Linked DNA regions of Homo sapiens: region 2 is linked to region 1. The links are contacts of gene promoters, found by promoter capture Hi-C in blood cells and fetal thymus (Javierre and others, 2016). All regions are on one chromosome and are shown on one strand. Each heading gives the region's core, a stretch centred on a gene start or on the middle of the fragment in contact. The rest is flanking DNA. Distances are from core to core; before and after follow the strand shown.

Region 1 (7,596 bases), core at 3,800-6,299:
CTCTCTGGTCCTGATAGGTGACAAACCTGATGCACGTGGAACGTTCAAACTCCGCAAGAGCCTCCAGGATGACCTGGCGGCTGGGCTCATCTGGAAGACACCACCTGGCTGAGCCCCCAGAGCCCTGGTGGTCTTTGAGCTCTACCTGAGGGTCTGGGAGCAGAGCTCTGAACTCACTCTCCCAAAATAGCATCAAGAAAGGGCAGCTTAGTGGTGCCAGGAAGAAGCTGGGCCCCAGACAGACCCTGGCTGTGTGGCCTTGGGTAGGTCACTGTCCTCTGCACCGCATGGTCTCAAGGGGAACCAGATCCCCACTCGACATACCTTCCCATCAGATTTTAACCCTCCCTACTCAGGAGACCTTCAGCAACAGAAGGGCATCTGTGGACAGGTTCTTCGGGTGGGGAGGTGGAAGGGATGTGATGGTGTAAGAGGAAAAGGGAAGAGAGGAACACCTGCCGCATTAGGAAGAAGGGGCTGAGGCAGGGAGGGAGCGCGCCATGCTCACTCACCGTACTTGCTGGAGAGCAGGAAGGGGACCTCCACGACACCACTACCACCCATGGGCCATTTGTTGCTGGTTGCTGACAGCAGTCGGAAGGGACTCTGAGGAGAGAGCAGCAGTTCAACCCCTGGGGACAGAGGCCACCCAAGCTTTGTGCCCCAAGGGTACCACACCCCAGGGCACCAGAACCCCAAAGATGTGGGAGTCAGGACCTGTGTGCATGGGAATGGGGGACCATTAGAGATGGGACAGAGCTGTGGAAGGCAAGGGGCCAGCTACATGAACCTTGATGCACAAGACAGTCCCTTGGCCTATGATGAAAGAATTTCAATCTCAAGCAAACAAGAGATTAGTCCCTGAGGATGTTGGCTAGGAGGCCCAGCACCCCAGGGTGCCCTGAATCAGAAGGGCTTGGGCCAGCAGCCCCACTCCAGCATGTTGACAGTGCCCCTTCCAGAGGGGAACAGCCACCAGGCTTCCCTGAACATGGGACGATCATGGGAACAGAGCCATATGGAGTGAAAGTGAGGCAGCACCCTGGCCTCGGCTGCTTACTTCTGCTCTCCAGCAACCAGAGCCCTTCGGTGCCCAGGCTCCACAGCACCCCAGCGTGCCTGTGCCATCGGCTGGAGGCATTTGATTCTGCTCCGGGTGGTCGCACACCACCTGCCCGAGCACTCACTGCATAACCCAGAGGGTCTGCCCTGCCCCCGGAGTTCCTGGGCAGCCTTGGGCCAGCCTCTGGCTCTCCTGCCCAGCCAGAGGCTGTGCCGTCAGTGGCAGCCTCCAACAGGACAGTCTTGCCTTCCCCTGGGTCACTGTCCTATTCAGGAGCCTTCTGCCATTCGCAGTTGCCTGAAACACATGGCTGCCATCCTGGGCACAGTGTTCCCTTTTCTGTTAGCAAGGCGCCCCAATCCCCAGCAACCTTCTCCCTTCAGATGCGGCCCCTCGACCACAGCCAAGATGGTCAGGCTCAACATCACTCCTTGTTCCACCATCCCTAGGTCGCCACTGCCACCAGGCCCTTTATCTGCCACTGGCCACTCTGCCAACCCTTGCTCATCTCTTCCTTTATCTGAGCACCTCCCGAGTGCTGAGCACCTCCCCTGGGCAGGGTACCAAGCTGGGTCAAGTGTTCAAACCTCCTCCTTCAGGAAGCCCTCTCAGGCTGACTGTGCCAGCACTTCAGATACCAGCCTTCCTTAGCATTCAGGCTGGCTTATTCCTATTTCCTAACAGAACAGTCGCTCTGACCTTGACAAAAAGAGGCATCTACCAAGCTATGTATGTCCCTCACACATCAGGCCCCATGGCATCCAGGGTGGGCTCAGAGGACCTGTCGCCAACTGTGGGCTTATCCGCACCCACACACGTCAGTGTGTGCACTCACCGGCCGGATGATGTCCCCCTCGATGAGGAAGCTGCTCTCTGGGGTTTCTTCCAGGATGAGCCCTGGGAAAGGAAGAAGGACGTGTTGGCCCATGTCCCCCAGAACACTGACTCGTGGGACAGGCCAAGCAAATCCCTACTTACTTAAGTCTATTCTTGTGTCTTTCCTAGTGGATTGTTACTTTTATAAGTTCTTAAATAGCCTGATAAAAGTATAGGTCATCGGCTCTCCGAGCCTGGGTGTTTAGTTAAGTCATTAGTTGATGTTTGAGAATGTCAGCCACCCTGTGCGGACTGTCTGCAGGTGTGAGGGGGCTGGAGGACAAAGACAAAGGAGACTGAGGCTTGGGGTCTGTCCCTCTCCTGACTGTGGAGCTAGAGGTTCCCTGAGCACTGAGCCTGCGTGGCCTCAGGGAAGTCACACAGTCCCTGAGTGTGCAAGGCTTCTCGGCTGGACTGCAGCCTTCCCCTGCTCAAACACAGCCCATGACCCACGCAATCCAGTCCCAAGCCCGGGTCCCTGCTGTCAGGAAGCAGTGGCTTCTTCCAGCCTGAGCCACACTCCTCAGAACAGGCCCTGGGGTCTCCTGCCCACCTCATCCCCCATCTATTCCCCACCCATCTGTTATATTCAGGCCCCTTGAGGTGGCAATTTTGTTCCACAAATTTGTTCCACCATCAGAGGCAGGCAAATACCGGCTCTCGCAAGCCCCTCTCCCCTCTTAGTCCCTCTGCTTCTCATCTCTCCCTGAGCCGGGTCTCCCACAAGTGACTCACAGGGGGAGTGAGGGAAGCAGGAGAGAAGGCAGGGAAGAACCCAGGCACAGCCTCAGCCAGATCCCATGGGCGCTCCAGACCACAAATGACACCGCTGACTTGTACCACCTTTAGGCAGGAGCCAGACTCCTGTCCCTTAGAAGTCACAGTAGGCCACCTTGGGCAGACAAGGGAGTAGCCCCCGGGCATCTCTGGCTGAGGCAGCTCCTTCTGGCCAAGGGCCAGTTTTGGGAGGCAGACAGCTGTGCAGCATTAGCCATATTCACAGTGGCTGGAGATGGGCAGGTGCTTCCCAGGAAAGCACTGGGTAAGGCACGGGCAGCCCTTATGAGACAGCCTCACCGTAGGTGATAGGATAGTTGTTGGGGTCACCAGCATTTGGGAGTTTTCTCCATTGGTTCTGGTTACCTGCAGACCACTCACGGTGATCCAGGGGTGGGATGGTGCCTGGGGCTCAAGGCTCAGCTGGCGCTGGGCTCCCAAGTCAGCTCACAGAGGAAGAAGGGGGCAGATCACACAGTGGCTACCACATCTGGTAGGATCTCACCCACCCTTAGGGCAAGGTTGTCCCCTGTTCAGCCCGATTGCTTCAACCCTGAGTGCTTCAGCCCTCATTGCTCCAACATCTGAACTCCAGTCTCCATTTCAACTGGCTTTGTTCAGGCTATTTATACACCCTCATTCCTCAGCTGACATCCCCAGACAGCAAGGCCCTGAGCCTGACTTTTGTTTTTTGTTTTTTGTGAGATGCTCTGTCGCCCAGGCTGGAGTGCAGTGGCGCAATCTCAGCTCACTGCAAGCTCCGCCTCCCAGGTTCATGCCATTCTCCTGCCTCAGCCTCCTGAGTAGCTGGGACTACAGGCGCCCGCCACCACGCCCGGCTAATTTTTGTATTTTTGGTGGGGACGGGGTTTCACTGTGTTAGCCAGGATGGTCTCGATCTCCTGACCTCATGATCTGCCCGCCTCAGCCTCCCAAAGTGCTGGGACTACAGGCGAGAGCCACCGCACCCAGCTGAGCTTCAGACTTCTTAATCACACCTGCAGACAGTCCTGCACAGGGTGGCTGACAATCTCAGACTGCGACTAACCGCTTAGCTCCACGCCCAGGCCCTTTAAGAGCTTGGTTTTTCTTATAAAAGTAACAATCCACTAAGAAAGATACAAAAAGAAAGAGTAGACTTAAGCAATTGCCCATAGAATTTCCACCCATTCACACCTGTAGTCCCAGCTGCTCGGGAGGCAGAGGCAGGAAGATCACTTAAGGCCAGGAGTTCAAGACCAGCCGGGGCAATATAGCAACACCACTCCATCTCTTAAAAACCACTTAGAGCCCAGAGTAAGCTGGTCCATTTCCTCCCAGGCTCTGCATTTCTGAGTGTTCGGTGTGGTTTTCACACTACATAACGTCGTGCCCCTCCAGGCCGTGAGAAGATGTAGTGCCCTCACCTTGGTTAATTGCAGGAATGTCCTTGTCCCCGGAGGCCTGGGTTCCCTCAGGGGTGAGGCCATCTGGGAAGCTGGTACCACAGGCTCCTGCGCAGCTGGAGGCCAGGGGCGCTCCTAGGATCACACCTGGTCCAGACAGACAGGGGCATACACAGATGCCTGGAGCACCCACCGGTGAGACCAGACAGCAGGACATGGGGTGGGTGTGGGGGATCAGACGGTAAGACTCAGTCCCTAGGAAGAGTAGGCTCCAGCACAAAGCCAAGGAGCCTTCCCAGCCTCCCTGCTCAACCCCAACTGGTGCCAAGGTCTAGATGACCTCAGGGAAGGAGCTCCCTTAGGGGGACCAAAAGGGACCATGTGCCCCACCTATGAGGTAGAGGAGGGGCAGGAAGGAAGGAGGCAGGACAGACCTCGGGTTCTGACGCCCGTGACGGGCAGGGCCAGCCTCAGACCCCACCTTATGACTCTCTCTCAGCCCAGGCTCTTGGACAATGGGCTCAGCCTGGATGACTCCCTGCCTGACCAGGCTGGAGTGGGGACTTACAGCCTACCCCCACCCCAAGACAAGTAGGCCTGGGGCACAACACTTATCTTCTGCCAGGCAGGCCCTCTGCTTCCAGGGCCTTCAGGAGGCCTCCCCTTGGCCCCCCAGGAGCTGACTTCTAGAATAACCCTGGAGAGCTCTGTGCTCTGAGCTACTGAGCTCAGCTACAATCCCTGCAGGCTCCAGCCACAACCTTCTAGCCTCTCCCCAGCTTTCTCCAGGCTGGAGCCAGCAGCAGGAGGGACAGGCAGCCAGCTTACCTGGCAAGGAGAGCAGACCCAGCACCCAAGGCCAGAGACCCCCTACACCCTCCATGGTAGAGCCCTGCTGCCCCTTCAGCAAACAAGACCAAGCCCCAGCAAGACACAGTAACCTAATTGCAGAACCGGCACCACCACCCCCTCTTAAATAGCAGCTGCTCCACCTCCCACCTTGCTCCCCTCAACCGCCTCCACCTGCAGCCCCGCCCCAACCACCTCCACCTGCAGCCCCGCCCCAACCATCTCCACCTGCAGCCCCGCCCCAACCACCTCCACCTGCAGCCCCGCCCCAACCAGCTCCACCTGCAGCCCCGCCCCAACCAGCTCTACCGGCAGCGCCACCCAAACCAGGTCTACTGGCAGCCCCTCCGATGCCTACCTGTGGTTCCCACCCCAGCCCAGTCCCCTTCCTGGCTGTAGCAGGTGAAAGACAGGAGGGGCCCGCTTGGGAGTGTGGCTCTTCTGAGGTTCCTTCCTGCCTCCAGGGGGCAGAGAAACATCGCAGAAAGTTGCTCCAGGCCTAGCTGAGGCCCCAGCCCAGGTATAGACCTATTCCTCCAGCGAGGGAGACCCCCTTTCCTACCCCGGCCTGTGCTTAGACATGGGGAAAGCTGCCTGAGACCCTGGGGCGCCCCCCGTGTATCTCCGGAAGGAGGAAAAGGTCACTGCACTTTCACAAGCTTTTATTTTAGTACACATATAGAAAAGTTCACTATCACAAGCACAGGGCTCCAGGAAATTTCACAAACTGAACAGTGTGCAGCACCCTAGAAAGCCTGCCATGTGGGAAAGGTGGAACCCCCAGATGCCCAGAGCCTCGCAGGGAGTCCACCCCCTAATCCCACAGCAGCTGGCATGATCAGTCAGTATTTATTCCCATTTCACAGATTTGGAAATTTAAACTCCTTACCTATATCCCCCCTCCTCCATACCCCTGAGCCCCAGAGCCAGGTCACTCAGGGCCCCACCTGGATTGAAATCCCAGAGGCGGAGCATGTCAGCGCTGGGCAGCATTTGGGGACACCCCCACAGTCACCTGCACCCAGTGAAGGGAAGCGACAGAGCCAAGAAGAATAGCTATTGTCCACAAGGACCTTTCAGCATTCCCACTGTGCCTGGAATCCAGAGCTTCTCCAAAGATAGGAATCAGAATCACAGGGAGACCATGATGGAGGCAGACGCCCTGCTGCCAGGGCAGGGTATTGACAGATGTCAGGATACACACCATGGATATGCTAGTTAGCTTGTTGTGGTCATCATTTCACAAGGTATGCATATGTCAAAACATCACGTTGTATACTTAAACATATACTACTTTTATTTGTCGATTATGCCTCAGTAAACCTAGAAAAAATAAGTAAAATAAAGAATAGGACCCATCAAAAAACAAATGCACAAGGCTGACCACTTAAGATGAGTGTTCAGGAGGGCGCGGTGGCTCACGCCTATAATCCCAGCACTTTGGGAGGCCAAGGCAGGTGGATCACGAGGTCAGGAATTCAAGACCAGACTGGCCACCATGGTGAAACCCCATCTCTACTAAAAGAATACAAAAATTAGCTGGGCACGGTGGCGGGCACCTGTAATCCCACCTACTCGGGAGGCTGAGGCAGGTGAATCACTTGAACCCAGAGGTGGAGTTTGCAATGAGCCAAAATCGCGCCACTGCACTCTAGCCCGGGGGACAGAGTGAGACTCCATCTCAAAAAAAAAGATGAATGTTCAGTAAAAAAAAATAAAGTAGACCGGGCGCAGTGGCTCATGCCTGTAATCCCAGCATTTTGGGAGGCCAAGGCAGGCAGATTACTTGAGGTCAGGAGTTCGAGACCAGCCTAGCCAACACGGTGAAACCCCATCTCTACTAAAAATACAAAAATTAGCCAGAAATCCCTTGAACTCAGGAGGCAGAGGTTGCAGTGAGCCAAGATTGTGCCACTGCACTCCAGCCTGGGCAACAGAGTGAGACTCTGTCTCAAAAAACAAAAGAATTAAAATAATGATAAGAAATAATCACCCTGCTTGGGGAGAGAAACAGAGTCTTTATTAGGACATGCAGTTGGTCTGAGGATATTTTGCTGAGCGAAACAAGCCAGTCACAAAAAGACAAATCCTGCATGCTTCTACCTCCAAGAGGTGTCTAGAGTAGCCCAGTGCACAGGGACGGAAAGTGGAACGGAGCTCACAAGGGGCTGGGGACTGGGGAGGGGAGTTATCATTTAATAGGTATAGGATTTCAGGTTCGCAAGATGAAAAAGCTCTGGATATCTGTGCACAACGATGTGAATACACTTTACTAAACACTTGATAATGGTAAAGATGACCAATTTTATGTTGCATTTTTTACCACAATTAAAAGTTTAAAAATTTAATAAATAGGAAAGAAGGAAAGGAGGAAAAGAGAGAGAAAGAGAAGGGCAGTTTGCTAGATGACAAGCTATAAAAAGCACGGGGAAGGAAGGAGAGGGGATTGGGGCTGGGTAGGGTGGGATGGGGTAGGGCCAAGGGTGGGGGGTGGGCAGAGGCCTCAGCCACCAGTGCAGCTGTGTGTGAGATGAGGCTGTGTGGTGTGAAGTCCCCTATGACTTAGAGCCCCAGATGTCCCCCACCCACCCAAGCTGGGCATGGGGGTACAAGTGGGTCCCAACAGATGCCTACTCAGCTCCTAAG
Region 2 (6,963 bases), core at 85-2,584, 720 kb after region 1:
AATGTCTCCAGATATTCAAAGTCCCTTAAAGGGCAGAACTGCCCCCAGTTGAGAACTGGGGTGTTTAGGGAGGGTCTCTGAGGAGATGACATTGGAGCTGGGATCTGAAGAAAAGCATCAGCTAGCTTAACGGTTGTAGGAAGTTCATTCTAAGGAGATGGGACAGCAAGTCCAACGGCCTTAACTCAGGAAAAGGTCTTGCATATTTGAGACACCAAAACAAGACCAGTGTGGCTGCGGCGTAGTGATTGGGGGAAGAAAAGCATGAGAAATAAAATGAGGAGGAGAAGTAGAACCGGCAGGGGTGGGTCTACAGAGCTTTGTAGGCCATAACAGGGAATGATGTGATTTCTAATTTTCAAAAAGCCGCTCTGGCTGCTATGTGAGAGTAGAAAACCCTGTAGGAAGGCAAGCGTGGAAGCAGAAAGACCCTCTGAGGCAACCACTTCAGCAGTGCAGAGGACAGCGGTAGGAGGGGCGGAGGGAAGTAGGCAGGTGCCAGAACCACGGTAAAGGAAGAGTTCCATGAGAATGCTTACACAGCAGTGGCAATCGAGGGCTGCATCCGCAAGGGCAGATGACACAGCACAGTGGTTCCCAACGCTCACAAGAAGCACCCTGGTTTCCCGCCTTCCTCTGTTCCTATTGGCACCATAATCTCTGTATAATCTGGGCCAAACGTGTTACCTCTCTGGGTCCCACAGATGAGATACTGTGCCCTGCCTCGAAGGCTGCCCGTGCGAAGCTCTTGCCATCTTTAAAGCATGCAGGCTGCCTGGCACCCGGGGCTAAACAAAGGCCACTGCTCTCCTTCACCGCGCAGCCCCCAGGCCTGCAGCTCCATGCCCCTCAGGTTGGGTGCAATGCCCCTGGTGCAGATTCTGCTCCCCGGGCCCTCTCTCAAACACCTGAGCAGGCTTGTGTCTCCCAGGGGAGGTCGTCCCCCGCTACTCGGGAGGGTTACGGAAACCAGTGCTTCCGCTTCCCCGCCGCCCGCGGGACAGGTGTCTCCTGGCCGAGCTCGTGCGGGGCCCTGGGAGGCTCTCAGTACACGGGAACCGTGGGTCCCGCCCGCCTTCCCGCACCAGGCCCCAAGCCCCAAGCCCCAAGCTCTCGGGGCCCCGTTCATCCGCCTCTCCTTGGCCCCACGCCTCCTCCTTGGGCCGGGGCCTGGTGAGAACCACGAGGGCCGCGCGGCAGCCTCACCCCTCTCGAAGTCCATCTCCTCCAGCGTCTGCTGTACGCCGAGCACCGCGCTGGGATGCGAGCAGCAGGGCCCGTCCGCGCAGGGCCGAGGCGTCGCCATCCCGGCCCCGGCGTCAGTCGATCCGCCCCGGGTCTCAGGCTCAGCCTCGGCGGGAGGGGCGGACGCAGGGCCCGCCCCGCGTCCCTGATCTGGCCGCTCGGCGTCCGCGGCTGTCGCCCTAGTCCCGCCTTCTCGCCAAAGCTGACCAATCAAACGCCTAGGCCTTAGCTCGAGAACCAATTGCAACGGTAGGGCGGGGCTTGTTGCGCCCGGCCGTGCCCCGAGGCCTCCGCGCGAGGGCGTCCAAGGCCAAGCGAGGACTGAGGCGCTGGGTTCCGGGAGCCGCGCGCCGCTGGAGGGCCGCCGGGCCGCCTGGCCTTGCAGGGTGTGGGGATGAGGCAGCTGGGTCCGGTCGGGAGCTTTCCCGTTACCTTCGCCATGACCCAGCCGTCCAGCGACCTCGCAGCCTCCTCTCTTTACCGCCCCTAGTCCCTAGGGCAGGGAGGCGCCACGCGCTCCGCGGTCTTTTTTTTTTTTTTTTTTTTTTTTGAGACGGAGTCTCGCTGTCACCCAGACTTGTGTGCAGTGGCGCGATCTCGGCTCACTGCAACCTCCGCCTCCCGGGTTCAAGCGATTCTCCTGCGTCAGACTCCTGAGTAGCTGGGACTACAGGCGCCCGCCACCACGCCCGGCTAATTTTTTGTATTTTTTAGTAGAGACGGGGTTTCGCCAGGATGGTCTCGATCTCTTGACCTCGTGATCCGCTCACCTTGGCCTCCCAAAGTGCTGGGATTACAGGCGTGAGCCATCGGGCCGGGGCGCGCTCCACGGTTTTTAGCCCCTCTTCCTGGCACCACCCCGGACCAAGGCCGACCGCCCCCGGGGCAGCGGCAAAGTGACGGCTGGAAAGGCCTCGAGACGCCCCTCCCCGTACCCTGCTCTTCCTTACAAGTCCAGCAAGGGGCAGGTGGCCACAACTTGTCCTGCCTGTAGCTCCACCTCAGGGCAGGGGCAGGGCCTTGGTTTGTGCAGAACCCCCTGGCCCCACAGTGGGCGCTGAGTTTACGGAATCGGTCTTCATGATCAAAACCCACCGGGAGGCCGTCTGCGGACCGCGCACCTTCGCAGCGTGCTCCTCAGCGGACCCCAGCCTTCTCAATTCCCAGTTAAAACCCAGGCAGCTGCCTGCTCAAGCCACGATCAAGTGTACAGGGGAGACCGCCTGATCGGCTTAGAAAGAGTGCATGAACGACAGAATGCAGGTTGGGTTCTGTGCCAGTCCCTCTCCAGGACAGTGGTCTGGTGCACACTGGATGTAAGTTCCTTCCCCCGCTAGTTGGGGCACGGAAGACCCTAGCATTCCTGGTGGGTAGAAGGCTGGAAGTCGTTTCTCCTCCCCTAAGCAGGTTGAGAACCCCATCCTCACACAAGCAATGATCTCATCTCCACAACCTTCCACTCCTTTGGCCCCTCATTCCCACTACCCGTCTTGAGTTCTGGGAAGGCACCCCCCCCACCACTCCGCTTCTCCCCTGGACTCCCAGTGCCCTGACTTCTCCTTCTGGCCAGAAGCCAAGGCTGGCTCCCAAGGGGCTATGGCCATGGTCTCGTTCCCAGCCCCGCAGCCACCACTGTGGGAAAACACTAGAGCTGGGCTGTCCCCTCCCACAGGCAGGCAGGGACCACAAAAGTGGTGGCTGCCCTGGGATTGTGGGGGAGGCCCAGTCCAGCCTCCCTCCACCCAGAGAGCCTTCCCTCTTGGTACCCAGAAAGGCTTTAGCCCAAACATCTTAGCCCCATCAGAGCAATCGTTTCATTTTCTCCATTTTATTTGTCAATATAAAAATACTCAAATATTTACAACAAATAAATACGCGGGGACACAATAAGTTACACTGTTAGGAGCCCTCCTCCTAGGGCTGGAAGAGAGTATGCCATTGTCCACAGCAGGCCCACCCTCTCCCTTCTCTCCCCTCACACAGCCTTTCCCAGCCCTGTACAGGAAGAAGGCAAGTATAAAATACCACTGAACCCCGGGGCCAAGTGGGAGGCCCCACCCACCCTTCCCCCCAAACACACAGGAGGCTCCATCTCCCTCCCCCCACCCTGAAAACATTCACAGCCCTAGGAGCAGGACTAGGCCCACCCCAAGCCCTGCACTCCCTCTGAAGGGGCACAGCACCCTGTCCACCCCACCTCCATATGTACATCGCTGCCCGACACTCGGGGCAGTGGGGGTAGGAGAGACAAAGTGATACGACCCCTTCCCCTTCATAGCTCCAATGACTCACCAGGAGGACCCAGGCCAAGGGAAGACTTGACAGAAACAGGAAGGCTATGCCACAAGCGCGCACGCGCGTGCACACACACATACACACACACACAAACACATGTGCAAATACAGACAAACACACATCTTGAAACTTCTGCCTTGAAAAGTTTTGGCGGCTGGGGTCCCGCGTGTCTGTGATTCACAGAGAGGAGGAAGATGCCTTCTGCGAGGCTGGTGCCCTGGTGAGCCACACCAAGTGGCAGTGCCCGTGCTGAGCAGAGCAGGTCCTCATGGCCGGGTGGGTGCTGGGCAGTATCTGTCCCAGACAGAGCAGGTGCCCGTGCCATGTCCCTGAGGTAGCTGGTGCCTGTGCAAAAGTAGGAGCTACACCTCCCACGCTTCCCGCCGACGCGGTGGGGGTTCCCCTCATACTGATGACTCCTCGGGGTTGGAGTCGGGCAGTGGCTGGCGTTGCTGCAGTTTGCGTCTCAGTTCATCCGCGAGCTCAGGCAGGGGGTGCCCGAGCCCTCCCCGGTCCTCCCCTCCTAGTTGTAAGCGCACGTAACCATTGGCATTTGAGTTCCGCCCACCCCCCAGGTGAAGCCGAGTTGGAGAAGGCAGAGGCTGGCCTGGGATGCCTGGAGGTGGCGAAGGGGGCCCCCCACCGGGCTGGCACCGGGCATGCCCAGGTACTATCTTAAGGGAGCCATCTGAATAGTAGTAACCGACAGGATCCCAAAGTTTCTCATCTGGTTCAGGACAGGGCCGGAAGGGGGGACTGGTGGGCTCCTTGGGCAGCTCCAGGGGGTACACCAAGGTCCTCTCAGTAGCCTTGGCCCCTTTCTCCAGCTCTTCCCGCAGCCGCCGGCGCAATGACAGCACCAGCAGCAGCAGCACCAGGCACACAGCCCCCAGGGCCACCACCGCCAGCCACACCAGCCCCAGGTTTTCCAGGGGGGCCCGGGCCTCCAAGGTCACCGACGGGCCTGCCACGACAGCCACAAGGTAGCCTTCAGCAGCCAGCCGCGCCCCCTGCTCCTCTGAAAAGCAGTGGTAGGCCCCGGCATGGCGGGGCTGGGCAGCCATCACAACCAGGGCCTGGAGCCGGGCATCGTAGAGGAAGGACCCGGGCTGTTCCGCAGGCAGGTCCCGGCCCCCAAAGGTCCAGCGGGCATGGGCCAAGTTGGAGGAGAGGTGGCAGGGCAGCACCAGGTCTGTGCCCGCCACCACCGTGATGTTTTTGGGAGTGGGCCTGACTGTAGTGGCAGAGAAAACAGAGTGCATGTTAGTGCAGGAAAGCAGGGCTGGGGAAGAGGAGAACAGAAACTCCAGCTCTGGTCCAGGGCTCAGCCCGATGCGACGGGAATGAAAAAGCTCACCTTTCTTACTGCCACGGAGGTTGCAGATGCCTGAAGTGTCCGAGGTCATCACATGCTGGATCAGTAGAGATCTGGTAGGGGATGTAGGGTACATCAGCAGCCTGGCTCCAACCACCCTGAGTCCCTGGAGGTCCTGGCCTATGTAGAGCCCAACTCACCCAGAGTGGCCACCCACGGCCACACAGCGGCTGGTGTTGACGCTCCAGGCGCAATAGGGGTCCCGGGCGAGGACACAGTCTGCACAGGAGCGATACTTCATGCAGTCGGCCACGGGCAGCTGCACCAGCTGAGAGCGGGAGCCGGCAAAGAGCAGCTTCTGCGAGAAAAGCGGGGCGCAGGAGGGGGGTCGGCCAGGGCCACACCACGGGAGGGGCGGCCGGACCAGAACGCAGCATGGGGACAGCTTGGACTCCTGCAGGGGGCACAGCACGGGGCGCCAGAAGGAGGAACAAGGGAACAAGGCAGAGCTATAGTGCTGAAAAGGGAACTCTAAGAACCGCAGAACTCAGAGGGCTTACACAGGCCAGATGCAATCCTAAGCCCCTTATCGACGTGACGTTATTAGAAAGGGATGATGGGGCTGTGAGGCCAAAAAGTATAATCACACACACTCACACACACATAGTGCAGGAAATACATTTCAAGGCCCATCAGCCCTCACAACAGCAGCAGCATAACATAAGATGTTTTCCTGTTTCAACGGTGGATGCCAATCTGTGTGTTTATTCAACCACACACTTTCTTTCTGCCATTATTCCATGTTCTAGGGGACAATTTTGAGTCATAATAGCTGGTAAAAGGCAAACAAATCAAAGTTCAGGAGGTGTAGCAAACATGCCACAAGAGTATTGCACAAGGCAACTAGGAACAGCAGGTCATGCCTGGAATCCCAGCACTTTGGGAGGCTGAGGTGGGCAAATCACTTGAGGTTAGGAGTTCAAGACCAGCCTGGCCAACATGGTAAAACCTTGTCTCTACTAAAAATACAAAAATTAGCCGGCTGGCCAGGCGCAGTGGCTCACGCCTGTAATCCCAGCACTTTGGGAGGCTGAGTCGGGCGGATCGCAAGGTCAGGAGATCGAGACCATCCTGGCTAACACGGTGAAACCCCGTCTCTACTAAAAATACAAAAAATTAGCCAGGCGTGGTGATGGGAGCCTGTAGTCCCAGCTACATGGAAGGCTGAGGCAGGAGAATGGTGTGAACCTGGGAGGCAGAGCTTGCAGTGAGCCGAGATTGCGCCACTGCACTCCAGCCTGGGTGACAGAGCGAGACTCCATCTCAAAAAAAAAAAAAAAAAAAAAAATTAGCTGGGCATGGTGGCACGTGCCTGTAGTCCCAGTTACTTGGGAGGCCGAGGCAGAATTGCTTGAACCCGGGAGGTGGAGGTTGCAGTGAGCAGAGATCATGCCACCGCACTCCAGCCTGGGCGACAGAGTGAGACTCCATCTCAAAGAAAACAAAAACAAAAACAAAAAACCTTTAGCTGGGCATAGTGGCAGGCACCTGTAATCCCAGCTACTCAGGAGGCTGAGGCATAAGAATAGCTTCAACCTGGGAGGTGGAGGTTGCAGTGAGCTGAGATCGCGTCACTGCACTCTAGCCTGGGTGACAGAGTGAGACTCCATCTCAAAAAAAAACCAAAAAGAGTATTGCACAAGGGTATAATGCAAGCACTTCAGGGAAACAGTCACGGAAATGGGGGCTGGAAGGAAAACCACCATGGTGAGGGCATCATAAACATCTCACAGCCTGGGAGGTCTGGTCACAGGGGCATGGTCAGGGAAGAGGCCAGAGCCAGAACCACAGCACAGCTTGGAGGGTCTGAAAGAAACATGGGAGCAGTTGCCAAGGCTTGATGCTGGGAGCGCAGCCCCGTGACCTGGCTATATATAATGGCCCTGTGCAGTGCAGATTCCATTCTGTTTTCATTCTCGTTTCCAGGAACCCACCCCAAGTTAGGCAAGGTGTGCATCCACATGTGTGTGTGTTCCTAACTCTGCACTGGCCAAGCACATAGGCCCAACTGGGAGAAGCAGCCAGATGGAGAGAGTGAGATGGGATAG

Evidence for each region. Contacts are between HindIII fragments. The CHiCAGO score rates a contact against its expected background, and 5 or more counts as called.
Region 2: the fragment with the promoter of ANKRD39 here is called in contact with the fragment with the promoter of ASTL in region 1 in 3 of 17 cell types (naive CD8 T cells, monocytes and total B cells); the score reaches 5.9 in naive CD8 T cells.

Annotation. Positions count from the first base shown.
Region 1 is chr2:96,133,453-96,141,048 of GRCh38, forward strand. ASTL (astacin like metalloendopeptidase) reads right to left here and starts at 5,050. Exons shown (of 9, transcript NM_001002036.4): 1 at 4,930-5,050; 2 at 4,123-4,248; 3 at 1,899-1,960; 4 at 513-606; 5 at 1-90. The coding sequence starts at 4,984. RefSeq lists enhancers at 1,164-1,663, 2,515-2,564, 4,905-4,974 and a silencer at 5,865-5,954. The HindIII fragment of the contact is 4,955 bases long and covers 653-5,607 here.
Region 2 is chr2:96,856,682-96,863,644 of GRCh38, forward strand. ANKRD39 (ankyrin repeat domain 39) reads right to left here and starts at 1,335. Exons shown (of 4, transcript NM_016466.6): 1 at 1,207-1,335. The coding sequence starts at 1,306. SEMA4C (semaphorin 4C) reads right to left here. Exons shown (of 15, transcript NM_017789.5): 13 at 5,056-5,213; 14 at 4,898-4,968; 15 at 3,037-4,774. The coding sequence ends at 3,945. RefSeq lists silencers at 996-1,165, 1,196-1,865. The HindIII fragment of the contact is 20,079 bases long and covers 1-6,963 here.